4 separate regions of the Homo sapiens genome follow, and regions 1, 2 and 3 are each linked to region 4. Evidence: promoter capture Hi-C in human tissues and cell types (Jung and others, 2019). All regions are on one chromosome and are shown on one strand. The core of a region is centred on a gene start or on the middle of the fragment in contact, and the rest is flanking DNA. Distances in the headings are between cores, read along the strand shown.

The links. The method cuts DNA at HindIII sites, captures the fragments that hold promoters and counts their contacts. A contact is called where the count stands out against the background at its distance.
Region 1: the fragment with the promoter of FUT2 here is called in contact with a fragment that was not itself captured in region 4 in 6 of the 25 tissues and cell types used here (bladder, dorsolateral prefrontal cortex, lymphoblastoid cells and 3 more).
Region 2: the fragment with the promoter of NTN5 here is called in contact with a fragment that was not itself captured in region 4 in 2 of the 25 tissues and cell types used here (dorsolateral prefrontal cortex and stomach).
Region 3: a contact is called between the fragment with the promoter of FLT3LG here and a fragment that was not itself captured in region 4, in 1 of the 25 tissues and cell types used here (dorsolateral prefrontal cortex).

What each region holds. Positions count from the first base shown.
Region 1 is chr19:48,692,337-48,697,323 of GRCh38, forward strand. FUT2 (fucosyltransferase 2 (H blood group)) reads left to right here and starts at 3,635. Exons shown (of 2, transcript NM_000511.6): 1 at 3,635-3,753. RefSeq lists enhancers at 2,906-3,469, 4,034-4,597. The HindIII fragment of the contact is 31,324 bases long and covers 1-4,987 here.
Region 2 is chr19:48,671,717-48,676,522 of GRCh38, forward strand. NTN5 (netrin 5) reads right to left here and starts at 1,301. Exons shown (of 7, transcript NM_145807.4): 1 at 1,216-1,301. LOC105372431 (a long non-coding RNA gene) reads right to left here. Exons shown (of 3, transcript XR_936016.3): 2 at 3,525-3,915; 3 at 1,430-2,071. It also overlaps the pseudogene SEC1P. RefSeq lists enhancers at 2,858-3,506, 3,507-4,154 and a silencer at 3,780-3,929. The HindIII fragment of the contact is 16,713 bases long and covers 1-3,093 here.
Region 3 is chr19:49,472,497-49,477,528 of GRCh38, forward strand. It overlaps FLT3LG (fms related receptor tyrosine kinase 3 ligand), which reads left to right and starts at 1,719. Exons shown (of 9, transcript NM_001459.4): 1 at 1,719-1,785; 2 at 2,107-2,176; 3 at 3,195-3,305; 4 at 3,649-3,702; 5 at 3,927-4,070. The coding sequence starts at 2,144. RefSeq lists a silencer at 2,098-2,177 and an enhancer at 3,496-3,675. The HindIII fragment of the contact is 13,748 bases long and covers 1-5,032 here.
Region 4 is chr19:48,986,476-48,991,606 of GRCh38, forward strand. GYS1 (glycogen synthase 1) reads right to left here. Exons shown (of 16, transcript NM_002103.5): 2 at 4,827-5,008; 3 at 719-910. Among named protein-coding and RNA genes, the nearest start is that of GYS1, 4.3 kb to the right of the region's middle. RefSeq lists a silencer at 1,977-2,159 and an enhancer at 3,290-3,681. The HindIII fragment of the contact is 7,422 bases long and covers 1-5,131 here.

The DNA of each region.
Region 1 (4,987 bases), core at 2,385-4,884, 290 kb before region 4:
GGCCTCCCAAAGTGCTGGGATTACAGGCATTAGCCACTGCGTTTGACCTCTCCATTTTTACCTGTATAAATGAGTTCCACTTTTCCCCATACTGGAAGCACTGATCACCATTCTTCGGTGTCCTTGTGTCCCTGGACAGCCACCCTCACACACTTGTGTTTAAAAAAACTTTTCTTATTTTTTTCTTGAGATGGAGTCTCGTTCTGTCACCCAGGCTGGAGTGCAGTGGCGTGATCTCAGCTCACTGCAACCTCCACCTCCCAGGTTCAAGCAATTCTCATGCCTCAGCTTCCCGAGTAGCTGGGACTACAGGTGTGCACCACCACACCCAGGTAATTTTTGTATTTTTAGTAGAGACTGGGTTACAGCATGTTAGCCAGGCTGGTCTCGAACTCCCGGTCTCAAGCAATCTGCCTGCCTCAGCTTCCCAAAGTGCTGAGATTACAGGCGTGAACAACTGTGCCCAGATTTATTTTTTAATTTTTCAGAGGCAGGGTCTTTCTCTGTCACTCAGGCTGGAGTGCAGCGTCAGGATCATAGCTGACGCTGGACCTCCTGGGCTCCTCTTGCCTCAGCCTCTCAAGTAGCTGGGACTACAGACATGTGCCACCATGTCTGGCTAATTTTCTTTATTTTTTGTAGAGAGACAAGGTCTTGCTATGTTGCCCAGGCTGGTCTTTAACTTCTGGCTTCAAGCTATGCTCCTGCCTCAGCCTCCTGAGTAGCTGAGATTACAGGTGCATGCCTCCATGCCTGGCCACCACGGCCAATTTCAAGCTACCAATATGAGATCATTGAACATGCAATTGGAAAGAAATGCACAGTATTACATTGTTCTATAGCAAGCCTATTACACAGACATAATAAATGTAAATAGGCCAGGCAAGATGGTTCATACCTGTAATCCCAGCACTTTGGGAGGCTGAGGCAGGAGGATCGCTTTGAGCTCAGGAGTTCGAGGCCAGCCTGGGTAACATAGTGAGACCCCATCTCTACAAAAAAACACAAAATTAACTGAGTGTGGTGACGGGCACCTGTAGTCCCAGCTACTCAGGAGGCCAAGGCAGGAGACTCATTTGAGCCCAGGAGGCGGAGGTTGCAGTGAGCACATACATTGATTGGCACACAGATTGGCAGATACTAACATACAGTGTGTTTTTTTCTCCAGAGAACTGGCTGGTAAGTGTTTACCATAGTAAGAAGACTTACTATAGAACAATGTATTACTGTGCGTTTCTTTCCAATTCCATGTTCAATGATCTCTTATTGGTAGCTTGAAATTGGCCGTGGTGGCCAAGCATGGGGGCGTGCACCAGTAAGGGAAAGCTGAAATGGAAAACAGAGGGTTTAGGGCAACAGTCCTGAATTCCGGAGTGCTGTCCCCCTGGGGGAGTTATGGGAATCTGTGGGGGTTGTTTTTAGTTGTCACAGTGGAGGTCCTAGGATGCTACCACAGCGTTTACGCGGCTGGGGTCAGCGACAATAAAAGTTACGCAATGAAGGTTTGTCCTGCATTCTCAGGACTTTGTTTTATTTTTGAGACAGAGTCTTGCTCTGTCACCCAGGCTGGAGTGCAGTGGTACCATCTCGGCTCACTGCAACCTCTGCCTCCCAGGTTCAAGGAATTCTCCTCCCCTAGCCTCCTGAGTAGCTGGGATTACAGGCGTGCACCACCATGCCCAGCTAATTTTGTATTTTTAGTAGAGATGGAGTTTCACTAAAAAAAAATGTTGGCTAGGCTGGTCTCAAACTCCTGACCTCAGGTGATCCTCCTGCCTCGGCCTCCCAAAGTGCTGGGATTGCAGGCATGAGCCACTGCGCCCAGGTCATTCCCATGACTTTGGAACATCTGTGGGACATTCATGGAGTTGGAAAGTCTAAGCCTCTGAGCCCCAAATCTGTTTTGCGTTTTTTTTTTTTTTTTTTTTTTGAGAGGGAGTCTTGCTCTGTCGCCCAGGCTGGAGTGCAGTGGTGTGACCTCGGCTCACTGCAAGCTCCGCCCCCGGGGTTCACGCCATTCTCCTGCCTCAGCCTCCCAAGTAGCTGGGACTACAGGCACCCACCACCACGCCCGGCTAATTTTTTTTTTATATATATTTTTAGTAGAGACGGGGTTTCACTGTATTAGCCAGGATGGTCTCAATCTCCTGACCTCGTGATCCGCCCGACTCAGCCTCCCAAAGTGCTGGGATTACAGGCGTGAGCCACCACACCTGGCCTGTTTTGCATATTTTATGACAGCTCACCTCCCCACTTCCCCGCCCCACCCTGTTTCTTTTTTCCTTGTCGCTGAATCACAGGGAAACAGGTCGTTTGTCCTGTGGACGGGCTCACATTCTGGACTGGGCTGATTGCTGCCTCATGGTGTCGTTTCACTGGGAACTTTGTCCTCCTGTTTTCTGCAAACTGGTGGTTAGAGTGGGAAGCTTGATCTGATTTTTTTGTTTGTTTGTTTGAAGGGAGCTCCGTAGCTGGTAGGTAGCCTCCTGCTGCTTAGCTGAAGCTGGGGAGTGGCTGCTGGTTTCTCTTTCCTCCTGTTAGGACTGCTGGGAGCTCTGGTGGTGCCTGCCTCTTCTCTCAGTAAAATTCCTCATCCATCTTTTTTTTTTTTGAGACAGAGTTTTGCTCTTGTTTCCCAGGCTGGAGTGCAATGGTGTAATCTCAGTTTACTGCAACCTCCGCCTCCCAAGTTCAAGCGATTCTCCTGCCTCAGCCTCCCAAGTAGCTGGGATTACAGGTGCATGCCACCACGCCCCACTGATTTTTGCATTTTTAGTAGAGACAGGGTTTCACCATGTTGGCCAGACTGGTCTCAAACTCCTGACCTCAGGTGATCCACCTGCCTCGGCCTCCCAAAGTGCTGGGATTACAGGCATGAGCCACTGTGCTGGGCCATGGCTAATTTCTGTATTCTTATAAGGACGGGGTTTCACCTTGTTGGCCAGGCTGGTCTCTGACTCCTGACCTCAGTTGATCCGCCTGCCTCGGCCTCCCAAAGTGCTAGAATTACAGGTGTGAGTCACCACACCGGGCCCATTTGTATTTAAAAATTTTTTTGAAATAGGCAGGGCGAGGTGGCTCACGTCTGTAATCCCAGCACTTTGGGAAGCTGAGGCAGGAGAATCCCTTGAACTTGTGAGGCGGCGGTTGCAGTGAGCTGAGATCACGCCATTGCACTCCAGCCTGGGCAACAAGAGCAAAACTCTCTCAAAAAGTAATACTACTAATAATTAATTAATAAATAAATATAAGACTCTGAGGGGACTCAGAGTCAGCGAGAGCCTGGCCTAGCAGGACTCTGTCCCCCGCCTCCATGCTGCCTTCCTGGAGGCCTTCCTGGCTGCCTGGAGGAGCGGAGCAGAGTGGGGGCCCCTTTCTGTTGGGGCATCACAACAGTTCCCCAAGGAAGACCCTCGGGGACCCGGATGGGGGATGCGACCTTGTCCTGCCTCTCTCCCCCACCCTTATGGCCAGGCTTGGGGTGCCTGGTGCAGGTGGAGGAGCTAAGGGTAGATAACAAGATGGACTTTGTGGCCGGCAATGGGGAGGGAGGAGGGGCTACGGGCTCACCTCCCTCCCGCAGCCCAGCCACACCTGCTCTGGAAAGCCCTGTAGCTCCTGGGCGGGGTTTGCCAGTCACCGATGCTGGAAGGGTTTCTTTGGCCCTGAGTGAAGAGAGACCCAGAGGGAACACTGAGGTGCCTGCCCAACCACTCTGTCCCGGTTTCCTTCAGCAGGACCAGGTGAGAGAAGGTGAGGGGGCTCCTCTCCCACCCTACAACACGCACACCTCTGCACACACGCCCAGGCGGAGAGCAGGGATTTGGGACGTGGACCTGTGTGCCCTCGTGGGTCCCTGGTGCCCTCTGGGAGGCACCCCCAACTCAGGACCTCCAGGAGAGGAGGGTCCCTCCCTCGGCAGCCAGGACCCCCCTCCCCAGCCAGCCGCCCTCCTTAGCTCCCTCCCCACTTCCTTCCAGGTGGATCTGTTTCTAGAGCTCCAACCACCAGCTCCCTCCCCTTCTCCACCCCGGGCCACCAGGTCCTTCCTTGTCTCCTTCCCCTCAGCAGTTTCTATGAACCACCCTGGCAGTAATGGTGCAGATGGCTCGCGCACAGCTGGTGGTGACCCGACTTTCCTGCCTCCACCCTGGGGCTCCTCAGAGGCTTCATGGAACCCAAACTGCTGGTCTCACCTCCGAGCCCTGCCGTCGCCCAGGGAGGGCGGCTCCGTCCCTCCTGCACTCCCTAATCCCGCTCTGAATCACCGCTTCTGTTCTGGGTCGGAGAATAAAGGTGGGGTTTCCAAGTGATGGCCCTACGTTATTGTCTGAAGCTCCCTTCTCCTCCCCAGGGTGGAAGTGATAATGCCGGGAATCCGGGAATCCCGGGGAGGTGCAGGAAGACAGCGAGCTCGAGGCAGTGGGGTGCGACTGAGCCGGATGTGCTGAGCTGCCCGGGGCACGGGGCGGTTGGGGTAGAGAAAGGCTTTCAGAGCTGGGGGACAGGACGGGGCCCCGGGTGAGCGGAGAGCTGGGTTATTTCACGGGAACAGCTGGTGACAAAGCCGGAGGGGTGTGCGGGGCCGGCGAGAGACTGGGATTGTGTCTTAAGAGGCATAGGGAGCCCTGAAGGGGCTGCGAGCTGGGAAGGGGCAGGGCCGGCGCTGGGTGTAGGGGACAGAGGGGAGAGGAGGAAGCCGGGCCGCAATAGAAAGACGTGGACGGGGCTGGACGTGGTGGCTGACGCCTGTAATCCCAGCACTTTGGGAGGCCGAGACAGGCGGATCACTTGAGGTCAGGAGTTCGAGACCAGTCTGGCCAACATGGAGAAACCCCGTCTCTACTAAAAATACAAAATTAGCCAGGCGTGGTGGTGCATGCCTGTAATCCCAGCTACTCGGGAGGCTGAGGCAGGAGAATCGTTTGAACCCGGGAGGCGGAGGTTGTGGTGAGCCGAGATTGTGCCATTGCACTCCAGCCTGGGG
Region 2 (4,806 bases), core at 51-2,550, 320 kb before region 4:
ATCAGAGCCATTGCCTTTCCCACATGGGGCCCTAACCTTGTTCTCCACACCCTGGGCACGGAAGGGGATTATCACCAAACAACCCAGCCTCCCTGCCACCCGCCCACCCACCCCCAGCGCCCCACCCTTAACCCTTTCCCACCCGAGTGCAAAGCCCAGAGAGCTGAGCTGAGGAAAGGGATGCTGGGAGCTGGAACCTGGGTGGCTCTGGGGCTTGGGAGCGGGACAGTGGGATCCCCATGGGGTCAGGGGAAGCAGACACCTGGGTTCCCTTCAGAACTCAGGGTGTGGGGACCGGAAGTTAGCGTTCTGGGACTTTCTGCTCACCTCAACCCTGCCCTCTATTCTGGGCCTCAGGGCCTGGAGACCAGAGTCCCCACATTCTCCACCCATCCAGAGTTCCCCAGAGCAGATGGGGGAACAGATGTTGGGGGCGGTGGGTAATGAGGAGGAGAGAGGCAGGAAGGCAGGAGCTGGGACAGGGTGGGGTGCCAGATGCCAGGGCGCCCGTGGGGGCAGAAGCCCAGACCCTAGGAATGGCAGGAGCTGGGAAGGACTGGACTCTGAAATGCCCCCACTTTCCCCTTCCAGGGCCAGCAGCCTCTGGTGAGGAGCTCACTGTGGACTGGGGGCCTCGGAGCCTTTCCAGGCCCTTGGCTCTGAATCTGCGCCCAGGAATGTCCCTGGGCTGGGCATCTCTGGGGCACCCTGGCGGTTGAGGTGGGCCACACCTGCCCCAGCCTGGCCTCACTGCCCATGTCCCCACTGCTGTTGGCCACATGCAGACGCTGCCTCCCCTGGCCCAGATGACAGGCCTCGCCCTCCGCCCTCCCAAGGAGCCTGGCGCCATTTTGCACCCACTCAGGTGGCAGCCGCCTGCCTGGCCCTCAGCAGCATCCTGTTAAGGGCCAGTCCCCCATGTCCCCTTTCTCTCTGGATAGTTGCTGGATAGTTCAGGGGGTGGCACCCTCTGGCCCTTAGCACCTTGAGGAACCAGGCTGTGAGTTCCCTAGTGTTCCTGGGGGATCCAGAAACCAGTCGTGGCCCACAGAGAGCCCATACCCCTCTTTAAGAAAGAGTCCAGCCATGCTCCCAGCAGACTCATAGGAGGCCTGCCTGGGCGGCCTGGGGTCCATCTGGGACCCAGGCTTCCTTTCCCTGGCTCTTGGCATGCACCCCCCAACCCGAGCCCTGAGGCCCCGACATTGGCCAAACCTGCACTCAAGAAGAGAGCGTCCTGCAGCCAGTTCCCCGCAGGCTCTTCCTCCAAGCTGTGGCGCGGTGGGCTCTCAGGAGGGAGTGGCGTGGCTGTTCTCAGGCCCCAGGCTAGTGGGGTTTCTGGGCTGGGCGGGGGCTCAGAGCAGAGCCCGCAGAATCTAACACCGCCACCCCCCTCCCACCCCAATCCCTCACCAACCGCAGCCACGCTATCCCCACAGGGACCCCTGCCAGCCAGGCCACCCGCAACGGTGTGGGACGTGAGTGCCGTTGCCCCCGGCGGTCCAGCAGCAGGACAGCCCCGAGCAGCCTGGCCTAGGAGGCTCACCGCAGGTAGGACGGGAGGCTGTCAGTCGGGGGTCCCGCTCCATCCCACTCCACCCCTGCCCACTGGCTCAGCCCCGCCTTGTGGTGGCCGCCATCGCGATCGGGCAGGGGCTGACCTTTGGGAGACAATCGCTGTTGGAAACTTTGCTCAGCCCCTGCCTCTGGCTGCGTGACCCCAAGCCAGCCCCTCCTCCTCCTCTCTGGAACCTTTTGTCAGCTGTGGGTTCACCGAGCCTTAAGGTCAGTAAAATCTGTGCTCTTGGAAGGTTCAGACCAGCCCCTGGAATTCAAAAGACCTCAGTCGCTTTCTAAGATGGTGGGGAAGGCGACAAATGAGCTGAGAACACCTGGGCCCCAGTGTTTCTCATGCGGCAGAGGGAGAAGGCGGGGACCCCCGGGGTGCGGGGGACCAAGCTCAAAAGCACCTCCCCAGTGCCGCTGGTGTCCTGCGAGTCCTCAGTGCTTTCATCGTGACATTTTCATGCGAATGTTGCTGTCTGTTCTATTCCATCTCCGAATGGGTTGACTAGAAAAATAATGTTTTCTGTCACTTCCCGCTGAGAAAAGCAAGGGCCTCATGGAGTTGGGGCGCGGCACCTGCTGCCCTGGGTGGCCCCAGCGTTTATCGTGGTGTAGCGTGGGCCCAATCCTGACAGGCTTGGGACCCACTGCCCCAGGCCCGCCCCCAGGGGGTGCGAGGGCACAGCAAAGGCGACCCTCGACTCTGGACCCTTAGGTACCACGTTGGAGGGGGCCAGATTTGGCAGGAGCAGGACAGGGACATCGGATTTGAAAGAAGGGAGTCACTCCGAAAGCTGGGAGGTGCATCAGCTGCAGGAGGATGGAATGGGGCTGAGACGCCCCCCATCAGAGGGGGCATGTCAGAGCTGGGGGCCCAGGCTGTGTGAGTCAGAGTGGAACTTCGGGATTCAGGCGCAGGTCCCTCCGCTGACCCTGCCTGAGCTCCCCCTGTATGGGACTTTGCCGGGGGTTCGCGCTGGGAACACAGACCCCTGCCCCATCAGGCTCAGTGTCCAGAGAGGGAGGGGGAGACCCCAGCAGCGCAGGTCCTTCTGTGCTCTAGGTTGTTGGAAGGTGCCAAGTGCCTTGGAGCAAAGCAAGTGGGGGGGGCGGCCACGGGGGCCCGGGGATTGCAGATGTAAGTGGGGTGATGCGGAGGGGCATTTGTGCTGAGCCCACCGCCAGCACAGAACCCAGCTTTGCTGCCACACAAAACTGAGGAAGAAGGCTTAGGTCTCGCTGCGTCTTCCTCCCCACCTGGGCGAAGTCTCAAGCTCCGGCTCCTGGAGGGAAGCTTTTGTTCCTTGCAGCTTGAGCTGCCTGAGTTGATGGGCGCCCCTGCGGGTGCCCGGGGGCAGGCGGGGAAGAACAGACGGAGCTGCCACAGCCGAGCACATAGTGCCCCAAGCTGGGAAGGAGACTGTTTTTTTTGTTGGGGAGAGTTCTTTAAGGGCTGGAGACCTTCACCCTCACAGCTTCTACAGAAGGCCAGGCCTGCCCAAGGCACATCTCTGAGGTGGGTTCAACCCAGAGAGAACCTCAGTGCTGGGCTCACACAGACCTCTAACCCCTGCCTTGGTGGCCCAGATATAACGGAGTCTCCACGAGGCAGGGCAGGTCACCCGCAGGAGTTACTGGGCATTGTGTGGCTGGGTAGGGCCTGCCCTCCCGGACATGTTCAAAAAGGCCAGGATGGTAACCCCAGCCATACTGCCTGGGTTCAAATCCACCTCTGTCCTAGCTGTGTGACCGAGAACAAGCTTCTTAACCTCTCTGTGCCTTCATTTCCTCATCTGTTAAATGAGGAAGAAAGAATGGACCTTCCTCATGGTGGGCGGAGGGGGTCATGAGGACTGAATGAGCTGACATGCCCACGGGTTCTTATCTGAGCTCTCTGGGAAAGTCGTGTTCCGGAACCTTCTGCTTCCTGGCCCTGTTGTCGGATGCATAGTACGTACGTGACATGGCATCCATGGTAGGTCTGGGCCGCATCACATTGTCAAACATGTTATGTTTTAGGCAGCAGAGCACATGGGTGTTCACAGTAAGAGAAGTAAAGTCTGCAAATAGCCACATGACCCTCCTCCAAGCCAGGGTTGTCCCCAGATGAGTTCAGTCCAGGTTGGCGTTTGCCGCTCCCCCTGAGGAAAATGGCTGACAAGGAATCGCGGACCAGGACAGCCAGCCCCGTGATGGGCCTGCCCGCCAGCACCCTCGCAGCCTCGGCCTTGGCTGGTGCTTTTCTGCGGCTTTCTGGTTGTCTAGGCTGAGAACAGCCACAAGAGGGAGCACCTGAGATTCCAGGAGAAGCCAGAGCAGCCGCGGTACCCACTGCTTGATCTGCAGGGCCTGGGGGAAAATGCAGACACAGGACCCCTTGTTTAGAATTTATGAAGGATTTTAAGACGGCAACACCAGATCATTAAAGCAAGCGTGGGGCCTGTCTCAGCGCAACTGCACGAGTCACACAAAATGAAGGCGGACCCCGCGGGGGGCACCCTTGTCCTGAGCTGGTTTCCCTTGGCCAGTGACCCAGGCTCCTGTCCCTGCCCTGCACCCCCACTGACCCCAGCTCTAGCCTTGGGACCTGCCTGGGGGCTCCAGCTGGGCTCAGAGCTCAGCTCCTTCTCCGTGGGGCAGGACCCTGAGTTGAGTGGATGGCAAGATCATGTTTGGGACACAGTTTTCACCAGCTCAGTGAAAAAAGGCTTGGGCAGATTTAATTCACTTTTTGCAAACTAAAGCAGCACCAGGAGCATTTTTCTTAGGCCTTAGGCCAGCTGGCCTTGCTGGGGACCCACACGAGACTTTCAAGGAGGGCCCCAGAGTGTTCAGGCTTCTCAGAAGGGTCAGATGAACCAAATGAGGAGCCCTGGAATAGAGGAGGATGACAGCTGAAGAGGCCTGGAGGGCCCCAGATTGTTCAGGCTTCTCAGAAGGGCCAGATGAACCAAATGAGGAGCCCTGGAATAGAGGAGGATGACAGTTGAAGAGGCCTGTAGGCCCCCGATGTTTAAGAGGACAGGCGGAGGGAGAGATGGGGAGCCGGGAGGGGTGAGGCAGAAGCCAGAAGTTTTAGGGGTGAGCCCATGCCAACCAGGGCTTCAGCAGGAATGGGGTGGGAGGGAGGGGGTGAAGGGATGACTGCTGAGCTGTAGCCATTGGAGTGGCCACAGGGAAACCATAGGACATTGGTCAGAGGAGTGGACAAGGGGAGAAGAGAAAGCCGATCAGGACATG
Region 3 (5,032 bases), core at 469-2,968, 490 kb after region 4:
CGGACTAGGTGTGGCAGTTCACACCTGTAATCCCAGCACTTTGGGAGGCCGAGGTGGGTGGATCACTTGTCAGAAGTTTGAGACCAGCCTGGGCACCATGGTGAAATCCCGTCTCTACTAAAATTATAAAAATTAGCCAGGCGTGGTGGCGGCACCTGAAATCCCAGCTATCTGGGAGGCAGGAGAATTGCTTGAACCTGGGAGGCAGAGGGGGAGCTTGCAGTGAGCCAAGATCGTGCCACTGCACTCCAGCCTGGGCAACACAGCGAGACTCGGTCTCAAAAAAAAAAGAGAGAGAGAGAGGAGTCTTCTGGAAGGCTACAGAGATTCCCTAGAGGCAATAGGGCGATAGGGCAGGACACACATTGAGGGGCCCCAGGACTTGGTCAGGAAGGAGCTAGAGCAGGTCCTTTGTCCATGGGCCACATGAGCTATTGGGGCTTGTATCTCTGCCTCTCTGCTTCATTTAAATCTTTCTAGCCAGATGGAAGGTCTGACCATTGGGTGCGACAAGGCAGCTAACCCAGGCTGAACAGGAAGTGAGGCAGGCAGAGGGATCAGGGAAGGGAAATGGATGATGAAGGCCAGGACGGGCGAGGCTTTGCTGCAGTAACACATAACCCCCGAATCTGCGTGGGCCACAACCACAACATTAGTTTGTTGCTTACACTCCCTGTGCTCATCCGGGGCTGGCAGGATCCCTGTGCTCCTCCGAGTGGCACAGGAAACTTGGCTGATAGAGGCGCTCTCTCCATGCATCCTCCACCATCCACTCCCCGGTCCCTTAGACTTCCATTCAGAAGTGACACCTGTCACCTCCACCCTCATGTGACTGGCCAAAGTGAGTGTGGCCATGTCCGAGTTCCCCAGGATGGGACCTCGAATCCTCCTGCTGGGGGGGTGGGGGCAGCAGATGTTTCAGGACAGTCTGCCACGGATCAGATGGGTGAGCAAGAGATTCAGGATGGGCGTGATGGGTCACACCTGTAATCCCAGCATTTTGGGAGGCCGAGGCAGGCTGATCACCTGAGGTCAGGAGTTCGAGATCAGCCTGGCCAACATAGTGAAACCTCGTCTCTACTAAAAATACAAAAATTAGCCGGGCATGGTGGCACGCACCTGCAATTCCAGCTACTTGGGAGCCTGAGGCACAAGAATTGCTTAAGCCCAGGAGGCGGAGGTTGCCGTGAGCCGAGACTGTGCCACTGCACTCCAGCCTGGGCAACAGAGTGAGACCCCATCTAAAAAAAAAAAATGCTTCAGAGATTCAGAGATCCACAGATGTGGAAGAGAGCTTCTATTTTGTCTCATGTACCACCTCACCCCTCAGTTTGGAGTTGGAGAAGCCGAGGCTTAGAGAGGTCAAGGGGCTGGCCAAGCTCCCACAGTGATAAAGCTAGTGCTAGGGCGACACCTGCCAGGCCCAATGTGACAAGATGCATCCTGAGTCCTGTGTGCCAAGCCTTGGCGGGGCAAAGTTGGGGCCCGGAGGACGGTAAGACACAGCAACTGCGAGTTCCCAGAGACAGATCCGGGTTCCAGCCCCAGCTCACCATGCACTGGGCGTGCCACCCAGGGAGTCAGCCCCACTGCAGCCCCCGCTGCGGGGCGTCCGGAGAACGCGCCATCTGCGGCGTGAGCGGCCGCCTCTCACCACCAGGGGGCGCGCTCCGCCTGGGCCCAGATTCCACCCCTTGACTGTCTCCCCCCAAAAATTTCCTTTCACTTTCGGTCTCTGGCTGTCACCCGGCTTGGCCCCTTCCACACCCAACTGGGGCAAGCCTGGTGCGTGAGGAGACTTGGACTCTAGGTCCCCAAGGGGCGGAGCCAGGGTCCCCACTCCTGGGGCAGGGGGAGCAGAGGGTGGGGGGCTGGGTTCCCGGGTCCCTAACCTGGGGAGGGTTCTGGGGACCAGACGTCGAGGTTCTTAGAAGTGGAGATGAAGAGTTTTCACCGTAACTGGGGCAGACGCAGGAAGCCTGGGGGAGGAAGGGGCGGAAACTCAGCCACATCAATGGGACGCGGGAGGGGCGGGGAGGCAAAGGGGCGGGCAGGGCAGGGGCTGGGGCATGAGGGTCCGAGACTTGTTCTTCTGTCCCTTCCAAGACCCGGCGACAGGAGGCATGAGGGGCCCCCGGCCGAAATGACAGTGCTGGCGCCAGCCTGGAGCCCAACAGTGCGTAAACCCCAGGGACAAGATCAGGGGAGAGGGGAGGCACAATGTCAGGATGGGGCAGAGATGAGGGGAGATGGACGGGAGAACAGATGGACAGATGACGAGGAAATAGGAGGGGAGATGGACAGATGTGAGGGGAGATGGATAGGAGAGGAGACGGACAGAGGAGGGGGAGATGGACAGAGGATGGGGAGATGGACAGAGGAGGGGGAGATAGAGGAGAGGGAGATAGAGAGGAGTGGGAGATGGACAGGAGCGGGGAGATGGACAGAGGAGGGGGAGATGGACAGAGGAGAGGGCAGATGAACAGAGGAGAGGGAGATAAAGAGGAGGGAGGTGGACAGGAGGAGGGAGATGGACAGAGAAGGGGGAGATGGACAGAGGTGGGGGAGATGGACAGGAGGGAAGATGGAGAGGAGGGGGTATGGACAGAGGAGAGGGGAGATGGACAGGAGGGGGAGATGGACAGAGGAGAGGGAGATGAAGAGGAGGGGGAGGTGGACAGGAGGAGGGAGACGGACAGAGGAGAGGAAGAGAGACAGAGGAGGGGGGAGATGGACAGAGGAGGGGGAGATGGACAGAAAAGGGGGGAGATGGACAGAGGAGAGGGAAGGTGGACAGAGCCAAGAACAAATGAAGAGGACGTGGACCAAGATCAAGAGAGAAGCAGGCAACAGTGGTGTAGAAGGCAGAGGGAGGGACAGAGCTGGAGGAACCCGGGCGAGGAAACCAGACGTGAAGATGAGGTGGTTGGAGAGAGACCAGCAGAGTGGGGGAGATGGGGAGAGAGAGGGGTGGGGCAGAGGGGGATGCAAACTGGACAGCATTGGACCAGAGGCAGAGAGAAACCGGGAAAGACAGGCAGAGATGGGGCCATGTCTCCAGAAAGTGTGGAAGAGGCAGAAGGACACCCAGGGAAGGAGGAGCGGGGAAGACAGAACAGTACAGGTGGGAAGCCCGGAGGAGGGGGCTGTGTGTGGAACAGCAGAGGGCTCCCCCAGCACCCGCTCCCCTGCAGACCTATCTCCTCCTGCTGCTGCTGCTGAGCTCGGGACTCAGTGGGACCCAGGACTGCTCCTTCCAACACAGCCCCATCTCCTCCGACTTCGCTGTCAAAATCCGTGAGCTGGTGAGCGGCGCTGCCCCGGACCCCCTCATGTGATCCCCCTTCCCCCCACTTTTTTTTTTAAGTAGAGATGGGGTCTCTCTCCCTGTGTTTCCCAGGGTGGTCTTGAACTCCTGGGCTCAAGCGATCCTCCCACCTTGGCCTCCCAAAGTGCTGGAATTACAGGCGTGAGCCACTGTGCTTAGGGGTGTCATCCCTTTTTAAGGGCAAGGTTCTGTGGCTTCTTCTGGGCTCCCCCTCTCTTGGTCTTGTCCCTCTCTCTCTGGATCTCTGCTGCCACCTCTGGGTCCCCACAGTTCTGTTTCTCGCTGTTTTCAGCCAGGCCTGATCCTGTTTTCTCCCGCAGTCTGACTACCTGCTTCAAGATTACCCAGTCACCGTGGCCTCCAACCTGCAGGACGTAAGTCATGTTGGGAGGGACCTGGGATGGAGGTGGGGACCACAGACTCAAGATGCTCCACCGAGGCGAGTGGATAACCAGGCCCTCCCCTCCCCAAACCCAGGAATCAGAGTCCTCAGCCCCTCCTCCCTCAGACCCAGGAGCCCCGGCCCAGCCCCTCCTCCCTCAGACCCAGCAGCCCCGTGCCCAGCTCCTCCCTCAGACCCGTGGGTTCTCCCCTCTAGGAGGAGCTCTGCGGGGGCCTCTGGCGGCTGGTCCTGGCACAGCGCTGGATGGAGCGGCTCAAGACTGTCGCTGGGTCCAAGATGCAAGGCTTGCTGGAGCGCGTGAACACGGAGATACACTTTGTCACCAAATGTGCCTTTCAGGTCAGCCCTCAACTTAGGGGACAAGTGAGGGGAGGGAGATGCCTTCCTACGAATTAGAAGTAAAGCTCCACTAGGCCTTATTGGCGATTTGGACCATAGCCACCCAACGAAGGTAGAGCGAGAAGCGCCACCCTGCAGAGCCCTGTTCCTACAGAACAACACGTCCCCAGGCACCGGTGATGGGGAGCAGTCTGGTCCCATTCTGGGGCCCCGGTTTCCTAGGCCATGATGAAGGGTGCCACTGAGGGGTTCTTCCCCCAAAAAAAAACAGGGAGAGAAGGGGTCTCTAAACTGAGGAGGCCGGGCGTGGTGGCTCACTCCTGTAATCCTAGCACTTTGGGAGGCTGAGGTGGGCGGATCACTTGAGGTCAGGAGTTTGAGACCAGCCTGGCCAACATGATGAAATCCCGGCTGTACTAAAAATACAAAAATTAGCCGGGCATGGTGGCTCAGGAGGCTGAGGCACAGGAATCGCTTGAACCCGGGAGCCAGAGGCTGCAGTGAGCCGAGATCATGCCACTGCACTCCAGCCTGGGAGACAGAGTGAAACTGTCTCAAAAACAAAACAAACAAACAAAAACCTCTCTCTGAGGGCTGGGTGCAGTGGCTCACACCTGTAATCCCAGCACTTTCGGAGGCCAAGGTGGGAGGATTATTTGAGCCCAGGAGTTCAAGACCAGCCCGGGTAACACAGTGAAACCTCATCTCTGCACAAAAATAAAAATAAATTAGCCAGGCATGGTGGTGCCCACCTGTGGTCCCAGCTACTCAGAAGGCTGAGGTGGGAGGATCACTTGAGCCCTGGAGGTCGAGGCTGCGATGAGCTATGATTGGGCCACTGCACTCCAGCTTGAGCGACAGAGCAAGACCCTGTCTCAAAACATAGAATAGGCCGTGTATGGTGGCTCACGACTGTAATCCCAGCACTTTGGGAGGCTGAGGCGGGTGGATTGCCTGAGCTC
Region 4 (5,131 bases), core at 997-3,496:
AGAAATTAAGCTTCTTTTTTTTTTTTTCTTTTTCTTTTTTTTTTTGAGACAGTGTCTCACTCTGTGGCCCAGGCTGGAGTGCCGTGATGCAATCTCAGCTCACTGCAATTCCCGCCTCCCAGGTTCAAGCAATTCTCCTGTCTCAGCCTCCCAAGTAGCTGGGATTTGGGATTACAGGTGCCCACCACCACACCCAGCTAATTTTTTTGTATGTTTAGTAAAGACGAGGTTTGGCCATCTTGAACTCCTGGCCTCACGTGATCTTCCCCCATCGGCCTCCCAAAGTGCTGGGATTACAGGCATGAGCCACCGTGCCCAGCCTGGAAACTAAGCTTCTTGAGCCTCTTAAAACCTAGAAGGGGGTCAAAACCAGGTCAGGCTGGGGATTCATGAGCATCCAGGGCAGCATCTGAGAGCTGAGTCCAGCAATATCACACTAGAGAACTACAACTCCTAGAATTCCTCGGGCAAGCCCGCCAGCCTCACTTTGAGGCTGATTCCAAGAATCCCTATGCTTGGAAGACTAGAGTAAATGAAGTTGGCATCGAGAGTAGAGCCTGGGCCCTTGGATGTTCATGTCCTCAAAGGCCAGAGCTAATCCTTGGATTAAAGGACCCTATGACTCCCAGAATGCCCAGGGAGAAGCCCATCCTCTGGCCCAGGGGCTGATGGTCATTGTAGTTTCAGGTATGGGTGGAATGTGTCAGACGGGGCCTACCTCACCCAGGAACCAGGTGGTCAGAAAGCCAAAGAGGACAGCGTCGTTGGCCTCGCGGTCGTACCACGGCACTCCGATGTTGCAGGTATCCCAGAGCTCTCCCTTCCAGCGCTCCAGGGCCCAAGCTGAGGCACCCACGTCCAGGAGCACCACCAGAGGGCCTCCCTCGATCAGCCAGCGCCCGAAATACACCTGGGATGGGGTTGGGGAGGCACCATAGGGAGGCTCTGGGCTTCAGCCTCATATCTTCACTCATCCGTGGTTCTCCCATTTGCAGGCAGATGTCTATAGACTTAAGCCTCAGCTCTCTTATCTTCTGTTTCCATATCTGCTGCTAATTTCTCACCTGCTGCCTTAGCCTTACTTCTCTATTTGCATGATTTATTCCTGCTACACATTTTTTCCATCTCTGTTGCAATATTTTCCGTGCCCCCTGCTTACTTTCTTTCTTTCTTTTTTTTGAGATGGAGTCTCACTCTGTGGCCCAGGCTGGAGTGCAGTGGTGCGATCTCAGCTCACTGCAACCTCTGTCTCCCGGGTTCAAGCAATTCTCCTGCCTCAGCCTCCCAAGTAGCTGGGATTACAGGCACCCGCTCCCACACCTGGCTAATTTTTTTTTTTTCTTGAGACGGAGTCTGGCTCTGTTGCCCAGGCTGGAGTGCCGTGGCATGATCTCGGCTCACTGCAACCTCTGCCTCCTGGGTTCACACCATTCTCCTGCCTCAGCCTCCCGAGTAGCTGGGACTACAGCGGCCCGCCACCACGCCCGGCTACTTTTTTTTGTATTTTCAGTAGAGACGAGGTTTCACTGTGTTAGCCAGGATGATCTCCATTTCCCGACCTTGTGATCCGCCCGCCTCGGCGTCCCAAAGTGCTGGGATTACAGGCGTGAGCCACCGCACCCAGCCTCCTGTTTAATTCCTGTAACTGCTACCCTTCTCCCACTCGCTGCCTCCTTTCTCTGCTTATAACCACATATGTCACATGTCCTGTGTCTATGCCCCCACTGCCCTGTCTGGCCACTCTGCAAATCATTTCCCCTACCTGCTGCCTTGTTTCTGTACTTGCTGCCACATTTCTCTTACCAACCATCTGCATCTCCCACTGTCTTTTCTTTCTGATGCTAATTCCTTCCACGGGATGCTTCTTTTTTGTTTTCAGACAGGGTCTCGCTCTGTTGCCCAGGCTGGAGTGCAGTGGTGTGAACATGGTTCACTATAGCCTCAACCTCCCTGGCTCAGTCAATCCTCCCACCTCACCTCCTACAGGCGTGGGCCACCATGCCAGGCTGATTTTTTAATTTTTTGTGGAGATGGGGTCTCACTATGTTGCCCAGGCTGATCGTGAACTCCTGCGTTCAAGCAGTTTTCTTGCTTAGCCTCCCAAAGTGTTGAGATTAGAAGTGTGAGCCACCTAAAGCAGGCCCTTTTTTATTTTCAGAGACGGGGTCTTGCTCTGTCCTCCAGCCTGGAAGGGAGTGGTGCAATTACGGTTCACTGAAGCTTCGATCTCCCAGGCTCAAGCAATCCTTCCACCGCAGCTTCCCACGTAGCTGGGACCACAGGCACAAGGTATCACATCCCGGCTAATTTTTAACTTTTTTGTAAGGACAGGGTTTCACCATGTTGCCCAGGCTGGTCTCAAACTCCTGGCCTCAGCCTACCAAAGTGCTGGGATTACAGGCGTGAGCTACTGCACCCAGCCTGTAATGATTCTCTTACTGTTCATGCTGCCACTTTTCTTCCCCATGATGCCTTGTTTCTGTTCCTTTCATCACATATCTGTCACCTGCGACCTCTTTCCTCTATCCATAGGCCCATTTTGTAGTCCACAGCCTCCTTCCTTCCTTCCTTGCTTCCTTCCTTCCTTCCTTCCCTCTCTCCCTCCTTCCCTCCCTCTCTCCTTTTTCTTTCTTTCTTCCATTTTTTTTTGTTTGTTTTTGTTTTTGACAGGGTCTCACTCCGGTCACCCAGGCTGGAGTGCAGTGGTGCAATCATGGCTCACTGGGCTGGGCGCGGTGGCTCACGCCTGTAATCCTAGCTCTTTGGGGGGCCGAGGCGGGCGGATTGCCTGAGCTCAGGAGTTTGAGACCAGCCTGGGCAACATGGTGAAACCCTGTCTCTACTAAAATACAAAAAATTAGCCGGGCGTGGCAGCATGTGCCTGAGGTCCCAGCTACTTGGGAGGCCGAGGCAGGAGAATTGCTTGAACGCGGGAGGCGGAGGTTGCAGTGAGTCGAGATTGTACCACTGCACTCCAGACTCAGCGACAGAGTGAGATTCTATCTGAAAAAAAAAAAAAAAAAATTATGGCTCACTACAGCCTCCACATCCCATCCTCCCACCTCAGCCTCCTGAGTAACTGGGATCACGAGCACGCACCATCATGCCTGGCTAATTTTTTGTATTTTTAGTAGAGACAGAGTTTCGCCATGTTGCCCAGGTGGGTCAGGAACTCCTGGGCTCAAGCTATCCTCTCACCTCGGCCTCCCAAAGTGCTGGGATTCCAGGCATGAGCCACCGCCCTCGGCCACGCCACACATTTCTAACATAGCCCATCCTCTGTCCGTGCCCCAGGGCTGCATTTTTCTAGCCACTGCCGTGTTTCTAAGACTTGCTGTCTCACTTCTGCCTCTGCCACATTTCTCCAGTTGGCTGTTTTCCTCCCTGAGACCATGGCTTTGGTTCTGGGCCTGCTGCCACAGCAGTGGAGAAGCAGCCCCGCTCCTCGCCGACCTGGCTTTTTGCTGCCTGGAGCCTCGCTCTGAGGTCCCTCCCCCTCCCAGCTGTTGTCTGCCCTTTTGCTGGGGGGGGGGGGGGGCTATTCTTAGGCCCCCAGCACGTGGGAAGCAGCTGCCCTCAGGAAGCGACTGGGCTGTTCTGGGTTCCCTTAGGGACACAGTCGGACCTGAATGGATTCCAGACCCCACCCCAAACCAGAGGCTGTGAATGAGTAAAGGAACCACAGTGCCTCTCCATCCCCAGCCTGGACCTGTCTGTCCCTTAGCCCTGCCGCCTGATGGCTTTCTCCTTGGACAACAGCGTGCCGCCTGATGGCTTTCTCCTTGGACAACAGCGTGTCTCTTTCCGTCTTCACCCTGGGGCCCTGGAACTCCCCCTCCTCTCTAATCCCTGATCTGCCCATCTCAGACTCTGTCCTGTGGGTCTGTCCACTGACCTCTCCTCTCTTCCCCGATATTCCATGCTTCTCTCTCCTTCTAGGACTGGCTTTCTGAAACATCTGGTGGCCTCTCTTCTGTCCCCAGTCTATTACTCTTGCCTGTGGCTCCATCCACCCTTCTCCCTTGGTCTGCCTGTCCCCCTCACTCTCCAAGCTTGGCTGTTAGTAACAATAATGACGATGATCATAACAATGACAATCACCGCCCACACAATGTGCTACCTTCATGCCAAGAACTCTACTAACCACTTTGTCCTTATTAACTGTTTCCTCCTCCCAGCACCGCTAGAAGGTAGACGCTATTAGCATGTCCATTAGCCAAGGACACACAGGCAGCAAGTGGAGGGTGAACTTGAACTTCAAGCTCCAGAATCCTGCTCCTTCCTGACCTCAGGCCCACTTCTCCCCAGCTCTGCCTGGCTGGCTGGCATTCTTTTCTGAGACAGAGTCTCGCTCCGTCGCCCAGGCTGGAGTGCAGTGGCCCAATCGCAGCTCACTGCAACCTCCGCCTCCCGGGTTCAAGCGATTCTCCTGCCTCAGCCTCCCGAGTAGCTGGGATTACAGGCACCCGCCACCACACCCAGCTAATTTTTGTATTTTTGGTAGAGACGGGGTTTCGCCATGTTGACCAGGCTGTCTTTCGATCTTGCTCTCTTTCTCTCTGGGTCTGAGGACCTTGGCCTCTTGGATCTCCGTCTCAGTCTGTCTCATACTTGCCATCTGTCTGTCCATTCGCCCATGTCTGGGATCCACCCACCCACTTCCAGGCCCTGCATCTGTCTGGGTGTCCTATCACGCCTCCTTCCTGTGTCCAAGCCTGCCTCGCTCTCTGGCTGGGGCTGTCCACCCTGCACCCTCTCCGTCTGTGGCTCCCACCCCGATGGCAGGCTGTCCACCCGCTTCTGCCCTGGGCTGGGCCACGTCCCACCTTGCAGCCCTTGCTGTTCATGGAATCCAGTGTCCTCTTCAGGGCCGGGGTGGGGGCCTCCAGCAGTTCCACCTGGGTCCTCACGCCCTGCTCCGTGTACGGCCCCACCAGGAAGTAGTTGTCGCCCCATTCGTCCCCTGTCACCTTCGCCTTCGTCTGCAGCACCGTGTAGATGCCACCCACTGTGGGCCCAAGCGTGTGAGGGCAGGCCCCGGCCGAGGTCCATAGTTCTGGGGCCTGGGGTGGGGTGGGCCGGGGATGTAGGGGGCACTCAGGCCCCAGACCTCTAGCTCAGGGGGAAGAGG